2 separate regions of the Homo sapiens genome follow, and region 2 is linked to region 1. The links are contacts of gene promoters, found by promoter capture Hi-C in blood cells and fetal thymus (Javierre and others, 2016). All regions are on one chromosome and are shown on one strand. Each heading gives the region's core, a stretch centred on a gene start or on the middle of the fragment in contact. The rest is flanking DNA. Distances are from core to core; before and after follow the strand shown.

Region 1 (4,983 bases), core at 2,484-4,983:
GACTGGGGCATAGGGGATGAGTCAGAGATGGCTTTGAGGTTTCTAGACTGGGAGACAAGAAGCCTTATGGTAAAAGAAAGGTGAGAAGAGTGAGTCATCTCTGAGAAATAATGAGATGAGTTTGTGAATACTGAGTCTGAGAGCAAGCTATCCAAGAGGAAATGTTTAGCAAGCAGTTGGAAATATAGGACTGAACCTCAGGAGTGGGGTTAAGTTTGGGCTAGAGAAATGGGAATGGTTGGTAAAGAGGTGAGAAGGGAAGCCATGCATGCCTGTGTGTCCTTGTCAATAAAGAAAGTGGAAAGCAGGAGGAGCTGGAGAACACCCAGATTTGAGGGGTAGTAAGAAGAACTAGCAATAAAAGAGAAAAAAGGAGGGGTCACTTGGCTGGAAGGAGACCCAGATATTAGAACCTAGCAGAGAGTTCTTTCAAAAGCTGCGGGTGGCTAGTAGTGTGGCTAATGGCAAAGTGAATTTGAGGCACAGAGCAAAAACACTGGCTACGGCATGCATGCTGAGAAAGCTGCAAGAGTGCACACACCTGCTCATTCTCATGTTCCTTAACACAAACACACAGAAATAGACACACCTGCTCCTACAGATACACAAGTAGCACCTCTTTCCCTCTCTCTCCTTTCCCCGCCCCACGTTATACACATATTCCCATTTCCAGGCTCATTTTCTGACTACCAGGGATTGGGCACTAGTGTGCCACAGGCTGTTAATGTTCTGTTTTAAGGATGGTGCCTCAGGTCTCAGAAAAGGGTGCTCTGCCTGTCATGGGTGGGAAATAATACAGAACCCCAAGATCACTGTCCTTGCCTTTGGCAGCTCAGCTGAGGGGAGGAAAGGAGGGAAAATGGCATGTTTCTCTGGATTTGCTCCCTACCCTACCCCTTTGCCCCTAGCCCCAGGATTTCTCAGCAGACAATAAGGTCCACCCCATTTTGAGAGTCCTTCATTTTGGCTGCCGATAATGCAAGAGAATGTTTTTGTTTCTGAACTTATGGTAAAAAGGAAAATAGAAGTCCTTGAGAGAAGAGCCAGAACAGAATTTTCTGCTGGGAATGCTAATGGCCTTAAGGCTGCCCCACAAACAGAAGCTGACTTGAGTGTGCTTCCTCCCAGGGGGCCTGTCAAAGCTAAGGGTCTTCATCTAGTATCAATAGGTATCAATTCTAGTCCCCCTAGCAATGATTGCTAGGGCCTATATGTGAAGGCAAGAACCCCCCAAAACCAAGCTTGTCTGCATGAGCCTCTCTTTCCACAATTTGCCCCAGGTATGTGTTGGGGTTTGAGGGTGTGTCTGAGGGGTGTGTGTCTTGTGTGTGATATGTGTGTGTGTATTTGTGTGTATGTGTATGTATGTGTGTCTTATGGCTTCATTCAGTTAGCCTGGAGGTGCCACAAAAACAGGGATCTTTCCTCTGTTGCATTGGTGCTGCCCCTCCAAGTGCCTTATCAGGCATTAGCCACGGAGTCCAATCATTTATGCGTAGTGGGGGAGGGTGGGTACAGAGTGCTTCCGTTGTCCTGCATCCACCCATGCTCCCTCCAAGGGCTGAAGTAAGGATTACTGCGGTGGGGCAATTCCTCTCCTCTACTCATCCCACCCGAGACTCCTCTGTTACCCACCCCCACCCCCATCTCCAGCAAGCCTTTCCCAGCTTGCTGCTATCATCAGCAATCCCAGGGCTTTCTTGTTGCACTTTTTCAATCTACTACTGCTCCTAGAGGATGTCGTTGGTCACAAAATCCCCCAACTGGGCCACACAGCTCACTTCTCAAGACCCTCGGACTGCACCACTTACAAGAGGGAGGGGTCCCCTGACTCATTCCAAATGCAGCTCGCAGCCTCATAGGAGTCCCCAGACCTCTCCTCCAGTGGGGTAGAGGCTCTGTTGCACTATCCAAAGAAGCCATAGCACCAACAGCATCACGAGCTTATGTTGGAGGGGGCACTTACTGAGTTCAGGCCAATAGTCTGGCCACTCAGCAGAATGCCTCACATATCTGGGAAACCCTCAGGGCCAGAAGCCTGGGGCAGCTGCCACCCTCCCCTGGCCAGTCTCCTCTCCCTGGTGGCCTTCAGCCCACAACTGCAAGGCGGTTGTGGTGTTGGGTGCCAGCGAGAGATAGGGGATATTCTCTCCACATGCAGCAATGAGTGTTTCTTTCCTGCTTATATCTTATTCCCTCCTTTCTCAGAATCTGGCAGTGGCTCCCAATTGCCTCTCAAGTCAATTGAAACCTTCTCTTTGTGGGCCTCAAAACCCTCCACAATTACATCTCACCTTCTGACACCCTCACTCCCACACACACATCACCCATAACTCTGGCCTAGGCACAGACAGTAGAGTAGACAGATGAGGTTGTCCACAAACTGCTCCTGCCTGAGTCCTGCCACAGGTGCCTGAAAGCCCCACCAACAGAGTCACTCCTCTGTGTCCTTTAAAAATGCAAATGTTACCTGTGAGGTGTAAGCAGTAAACCTCTATCAGCTATTAACACCTTGGCCTGGCAGGGATTCTGTCATCAAATTTGCCCGAGCAGTGAGCAAAGCCCCGCCTAAATAATCTAAGGGGGCGGGGGAGAGGACCCAGAGGAGCCCTGAGCAGCCGACGGGAGGGGCAGGAGCAGGGAAGGGGCTCTGACGTAGAAGCCATCGCCGTCACGATTTTACCACGGTCTACATTCTAACTCCGCATCTCTACTTAAAACAGTAAAACCCACTAGTCCTTGCTCCCCTCAACCTTGTTTCCCCCATCCACAATACATTATGCCTTATTTAACCTCAGGGGTGCCTTCATGACAAGCTGCTAAGGTTGAATTAGTCCTTTCACATGAAATACAAAAACAAACAAACAAAAAAACAAGCCATGAAATTGGGTAGACGCTGGCATGTTTGCTTGGGCACGGCCAAGTCTTGTTGAGGTCTCCCCGGGTAGAGCAAGATCTCTTTGCTCAGCGGAAACAGCAAAGGCTTCCCGAAAAGCCTCTCTTAGCTCCCAAGAAGCTGGCAGCTGGGTTCCCCCTGCTTCTCCTGCAGTGAGCTTCATGGGCAAGGAAGGCGAGGGAGGGGCAGGGCCTCCAAGCTGAGGGCCTCTGTGGCTGAACTGGCACACTATCCCGGGTCCTCTAGGCCCAGGTGGAGTTCGCCATTTACCCCGGTCTCCAGCTGGGAAAACTCACTTGGTGCTTCGCTCTGAGTCAGCATAGAATCCCCCACCCTCCACTTCGAGAAGGGCGCCCCCAAGGGAGCCTTGCGCTTATAGCAGTTCCTCCGAAGGCAGGAGTCCAGAGACTGCCCCGCCCTCCGTAAGAGCTGCAGGATGCTAAGACCACCCGGTGGACTCCAGGGTTTTGCACCTGGACCAAGATGCCAAGGGGAGGGGCAGGTCTAGCAGAATTCGGCGTTTGCTGTCATCTGGGGCTCTTTAGTTGCAGCTGCAAGGGTGGAGGTGCCACCTGCTTCTGGGGGAAGGTGTCAAACATTTGCCCCTGCAGTGGTTTCAGTGTGTGTGTATGGGGCTGTGGTGTGTGTGTGCAGGAAACCCAACAGCTCGAGCGTGGAGGGTATGACTACCAGAGTTGGGCACGCTTTTTGCCAGAATGGGGTTCTTAAGGGCTCTGGTGGAGGTGTCTACAGTAGCTGCGTGTGACGGGGGGTTGCTGGGTGTGTATTGGGGGGAAGCAGCAGGTACTGGATCTGCAGTAATGTGCAGTTGTCATGTAGTTTCTCAAGACCACTCTGAGAAAACACACACACACTCACATACACACACACACTCTCCAACCTCCAAAGCACTAGGCTGGGGAGTAGAGGAGTGTGTTTGTGTGTGCATGTTTTAGCAGCGCTAGGGGGAGGTGCATGTATCTGTATATGTGTTTGAGCTTTATTAGCATCTTGGTGGGAGGGGGCAAGTGTAGCTCGCGCTCTCTCTCTCTCTCTCTGTGTGTGTGTGTGTGTGTGTGTGTGTGTGTGTGTGTGTGGTCTTTGCATGGGGCTGACTGTGTGGCTGAGCGCCGGGTATGTTGTGCGGCTGTGTGTGCGTGTGTGTGCGCCTCCGTGTCCGCTTGTGAACATGGCCCCGGGAACCACGCACATGCTTCAGACAGCTGTTTCTGGCAGCCCCTGGGCTCGGGCTTCGCCGGGCACCCCGGCTAAGTGGCCACCTCCTAGCAGCCAGGCCCCGCGTCTCGCCAGCTCTCCCAACTGTGCCCACAGCCCAGGCGCGCACACAAAGGCTCCATAATGAACGCGCTGCACTCCCCTGCGCTCGACTCCTCACCCCGCACCCGCGGAGGCCAAACGAGCCCGCCAAGCCAGAGACTCGCCGGGGCAGTGGGCACGCAACGGGCCGTTACCCCGCCCGCCCAAACTCCGGGCGGCCAGACGTTCGGCGCCCCCCGCCCTGCCCCCGGCTCCCGGGGGCGCCCAAGCGCCAGTCGCCCCCCAGCCGGCCCGGGGCGGAACGCTCCCGCCGCGACCCACCCCCGGTTGGGCTGAGACAGCGGGCGCGCCCCCCTGAAGGCAGCGCGCCTCTTACCTTCCTCCCCCTCCTCTTCCTCCTCCTCTTCCTCCTCCTCCTCCTCCTCCTCCGCCTCCTCAGCGGCGCGGCAGCGGCGGCGCAGCGGCGGCGGCGGCGGCGGCGGCAGCGGGACTAGGGCACCCGTGCCCCCGAGCCCGGCATGGGCTTGGGGCTCAGTGGCGCCGGGCGGCGGGGCGGGCAGAGGTTGGCAGGGCGGCAGCAGCTGGCCCGGGACGCGGGGAGCTGGCGCGCAGGCGGCGGGCTGCGGGCAGGATGGCAGGAGCGCGCGCGGGCTCCTCGGGCGGGCTTCATGGCTGCGCCGCGGGCGGCACCATCGCCGTGGCTCGCTCGTCGCTCTCTCGCTCCAGGAGTGCGGCAGGCTGCGAGGTGACGGATGGCGGCGAGGCGGCCGGACGGCCGAGGAGGGGAGGGGAGAAGGGGCGGGGGGAGG
Region 2 (4,983 bases), core at 2,484-4,983, 330 kb after region 1:
AAATCATAAATCATCTCTAAGATTCTTCCTGACCATTTCTAACATGTAAAGAAATGACATTGTTGAACAATTTTTTTTTGTTTGTTTTTTGAGACAGGGTCTTGCTCTGTCACCTAAGCTAGAGTGCAGTGCCGTGATCTTGGCTCACTGCAACCCCTGCCTGCTGGGCTGAAGTGATTCTCCTACCTCAGCCTCCCAAGTAGTTGGGACTACAGGTGCACACCACCACACCTAGCTAATTTTTGAGTTTTTTGTAGAGATGGGGTTTTGCCATGTTACCCAGGCTGGTCTTGAACTCCTGGGCTCAAAGGACCCACCCGCCTTGGCCTCCCAAAGTGCCAGGATCACAGGCGTGATCCACCGTGCCCAGTCACGTTGACAAATCTTAATTAAAAGGTCAGAAATACAGAAATAAGCTATTTTTACCAGTAATGTTAAAGCATCATTTATGTTAGGCACTGGAGTCTTCAGCCCCTCGTAACCATTGTTAACCAGCTGACATATTAGCTGAAGAATTCTTAAATTTAAAGTGTTGACACTATCCCAGTACATACCCATTTTTTAATCCTTTGAAAAGATGCTATATTTGTTCTCTATAACAGCATTTATGCTATTTCATTTGGGAAATTTGAAAGACTTGCACAGTTGTTTACTCTTAATATAAGATGGTGAGTAGATTCAAGAGAAGATTTTTGGTTTTAACATCTTCTTCCATATCTTGGAATCATAACTGCTTCATAATGTAGTCTTCAGAAGCGTGCCACAAACAAAGCACCTAAAAAGGACAAACTCAGAAAATGTGTCTCTGTTAAGAAGGAGCTTCTGGATTAATTAAACTAACCTTGTTAAATTGACAGAAAGACAAATGAGGCATATTTTTCGGTTTGTCATAAATTCTTCTAGGGGTAAAATTGTGAAATTAGGTAAGATCTCTGTGCCCATGTATAACATCTAGAGATCTCCAAGGCTTTGTATACACTGTCTGATGTCCTTTTAAGCTGGGGAGAAGAATGTTGTGGGAAACAGAATAACTATTATTACACAGTTAACAAGTTTGGCAGAATTAGAAATGGCCTGGTTTTCTTTTTAGTGTAATTTTCTGAATGTTTGTCTGTTTGTACCTATCACTTGCGCTGGTTACAGTTATACACAGGTATGTAGAGTACTTCTTATGACCTTGCTTTCCAGTTGCAATTCCACAGCTATGTGAATATGTATCTTAGCTATTCGTTCTCCACTCATCCCACCTAGTGGATTTGCAATGTAGTGTGTATCATTTCAGTATCAATAGGCTATATGTTTTATTAGAAGTTGTACACAAGTTTGGTGTGATGGTTGGTGTAATATTTGTTCCATCCTTTGCCACCGTCCCAGGGGATAAGCACACTAGCAACCTTGGTGTATTTTTCCATTTCCTTGTCAATATGTCAATTGGGACAGATTGGTTGAGCCACAAAATTCAGCTCTACCACCATATAGGATTTACCTGGTGCAGGCAATGATGTGACCCCCCGTTTTGTTTATACTTATATTCAGTTCACGTTCTGTGCCAAAGCTACAAAGTGGTACATGCTATGCCTGCAGTCATTCACCTTTATGATTCAAGAGCACAGTTATTTGCATGTGACAGGTCTTAGGTAGCTCACCATGACATTTTCAATCTGATAGAAGTTCTCAGGACAGGAAATTCTACAATGTTTTTCAGTAGCTGCTTTTTGGTCCTTTGCTCTAACTTGAGCATGGAAATACAAAGCAGTTTGGATAAGTCTAAATCTACTGATTAACATTTGACTATTTACTCATAGATTACCACTCAATCATGGAATAACTTTAAAACCATACCTTTGTATGTGCTTGACAGTCACCCTATACTTAGGAGGTATCCTCATTTTACAGATGAGAAAACTGGCCTAGACCAGTTAAGAAACTTACTGAAACCCACATGGTCTAGTAACTTACCAGAGCAAAAATTCAAGTCCAGATTGCCTCTAAAACCCTGTCGTGCTATACTGTCAACTGAGAAGTGAGATTCAAATCCAAGTAGTGTGCCCCGCCCCCCACCATTACCTACAATCTTTTCTTCTTTGGCTTCTTGAGATGTAAGAGGGTTTCTCTTTAATTAAAAAAGTATTGACTAGGTAATGTAGTCATGGGTTCAAAATTCAAAGGGCACAAAAAGATACGTGAAGAATTTTTTCTGCCCTTGTCCCTCAGCCATCCAGTTCCCCTACCTGGAGGCATTCACTCATCATTTGTCTGTAAGTTCTCCCAAACATATTTTGTGCATATACAAGCAAACACACATATATATGTTTTTAAGTGACTAGAGCTCCCCTTTTTATGCAAATAGAAGCATAGTATACATATCGTTCTGCACCTTGCTATTGCACTAACTATATTTTGGAGATTGTTTAGTAGCAGTTCATAGAGAACTTTGTCATCTTGGTAACTGCTGCATAGTTTTTCATTGAATGATACATTTTCATAGTATGTTCTTGGATATTTTCATTTCTGTTTTCATAAACAATGTTGCAAGGAATGATAGTAGGTTAGAGGATATATAGTATTGAGGATTCTATTCATAACTGAATTGCTGCTTTAAAGGGAATGTACATTTATGATTTTAGTAGTATCCTCATTTGCCCCCAATAGATGTTGTACCAATTTATATTCCTACCACTAGTGTATTGAGAGCGCCCGTTTCCCCACAATCTCAATAAAACAAGTGTGTTATCAAACTTTTGGATCTTTCCCAATCTGTTAGGTGAAAAATGGTAGTTTAATGTACTTTTAAAAATAAACTTTAAGTTCTAGAACAGTTTTAGATACAGAAAGGTTGCATAGTACAAAGTTCCACATACGTACAACTCAGTTTCCCTTGCATAACTCTGATACATTTGTCACAGCTAACGAACCTTGTTATTAGCTAAAGAGCATAGTTTGTTCACATTTCCTTAGTTTTTACCTCATGTCTTTTTTTCTTTTCCAGGATCCCATCCAAGATACTGCATTACTTTAGTCATCATGACTCCTTTGGTTCCTTTTGGCTGTGACAGATTCTTGTGTTTTTGATGACCTTGCTAGTTTTAAGGAGTACTGGTAGTCAGTGTACTTTAAAATTTGTGAGATTGGACATCTTTTCATACACTTAAAGACATTTGCATTTCCATTTCTGGAAACTAAGAGCCTATGCTTTTAACCACTATACTATACCTCTTTCTTGATTCACCATAATTATCAATAAAACATATGTGGGCCTGAACATACACAGACTTCTGATTCTGAGTGGAGAAAACTCTCAAGTCTCTGTTACAGATAGAGGAGAACCATTAGTACAGGTGATATAGTCAGACTCGTGTCTGATGACTCTGGCTACATCGTGAAGGATGAAGCAGAGGCTCGACTGGAAACGGTAGGTAGGCTGGATAAATCCTTGAAAGAAAAGCAGTGTTGATAAGTTCAAAGGAAATTACAGAAGAGCCAGGAATTAGTGGTAATGGATGAGAGAATCAAGAAGTCAAAGGTGACTCGTTTTATGAGCTGGATATTTTGGGTCTTCTTTTGAACCTAAATGAGAAATTCAAAATAAATATTTGGACAATGTTCAGCATACCTGTCACTTGAGATCTACTTTCTCTTTCTGTTGCCATAGCTCTGTGCTACTACAATTCCCAGAGCCCCATGCTCCATCACAATACCCTTAGAAGTCCGCCGCGCGGAGTTCTGGGACTTGAGGTCCGCGGCCTATTTACCCAAGTTGGAGGTAGGGGCCTGTGGAAACATGAAGAGGTAAGGACTTGTCTGAAGAGCAGGCGGCAAGGGGAGCTTTGTTCTACCTTTTCTTTTGAAAATGGCTTCCATTGCTTTCTGGTTTGGGTATTGCACGTTCTCAGGATGCGGTTTCGTGGGAGCGGGAACACGACAAAGGAGACGGGAGGAGGGGAGACGGGCTGAACAGGCCTGCAGAGCGAAGTTCAGGAAGGGCTGCCACCGGGGCCGGCTGCTGTGGGAATGCCCTCCCGGCACGGGCCCCGGGAGCTGGCCGGGTGCTGCGGCTTCGTCGTTTCACCCGGACCCAGCTGGGCAAAAGGGTTTGAGGCTGACAAATTCCCGGCGCCGGAGATGTAGGTACCTCGGGCCAGCCCCTCGCCGTTCTCCCCTACCTCCACCTCCACCTGAGAAAGGCTCGGGGCGGGCGCATTTATTTGCAACGTCTGTGTGTTAAAGACTACTTGCTTGGGCCCCGAAACCATGTAGCGCTTTCGAATCTTAAAGTAAGGGAGCGGTACTTTGTTTCTAAATGTGGAAGGACAGCACCAAAGCGGTTCGATTTATGGGGTGGGGGGAGGGGAGGTGGAAGGCATTGCTGGGCTCAGTTCCCCTTACTTGTCCTGAGGTAAATGGCCGCTTGAGCCTAAATGGCCTGAGCCTCCTAACTATTGACGGGCTTAAATTAATTTTAGATTCACTCTGCAAGTAGAATCATCACTCTGGAATAGTGCAGTGCATTTAAAATTCTTACTGATATGCTTTCCTGCACTGTCAGTTCCTTGCATCTTTTAAAAAACCGTTTATGACTTTGCCTGCCTGAAACTAACCTTTAATATTTTTTTATGATATCTCCTCCATGCGAAATAATGTATAATGTATATATACAGCTTAAAGAATAATAAAGGTTCGCATCCACTACAAGCTTAAGAAATAGGACATTGCCAGTCCCTTAGAAGTCTACTGTGTCTCTTCCCTCCCTTCGTTCCCCCCTGAGGTGACCACTATCCGGAATTTTGTGTTATTAATTCCCTTGCTTTTAAAAAAGCAAATAGTTTCTAGTACATATGAATTTATCCCTAAACAAAATGTTCCTAGTCATGTATTTGAAGTATTCCTGATACTTCATGCTGGCGTTTCTATTGTAAAAGCTACTAGACTCAATGTGGCTAAAACAATACTGACTTTCCCTTTCCCAAATCATTTATTCCATCT

Evidence for each region. Contacts are between HindIII fragments. The CHiCAGO score rates a contact against its expected background, and 5 or more counts as called.
Region 2: a contact is called between the fragment with the promoter of RBM41 here and a fragment that was not itself captured in region 1, in 1 of 17 cell types (naive B cells). The highest score is 5.1, in naive B cells.

The regions. Positions count from the first base shown.
Region 1 is chrX:107,449,573-107,454,555 of GRCh38, reverse strand. It overlaps FRMPD3 (FERM and PDZ domain containing 3), which reads right to left and starts at 4,904. Exons shown (of 15, transcript NM_001388459.1): 1 at 4,551-4,904. RefSeq lists an enhancer at 2,783-3,697. The HindIII fragment of the contact is 4,980 bases long and covers 1,244-4,983 here.
Region 2 is chrX:107,117,572-107,122,554 of GRCh38, reverse strand. RBM41 (RNA binding motif protein 41) reads left to right here and starts at 3,733. Exons shown (of 8, transcript NM_001324242.2): 1 at 3,733-3,789. The coding sequence starts at 3,782. RefSeq lists enhancers at 3,780-3,969, 4,350-4,429. The HindIII fragment of the contact is 8,519 bases long and covers 1-4,695 here.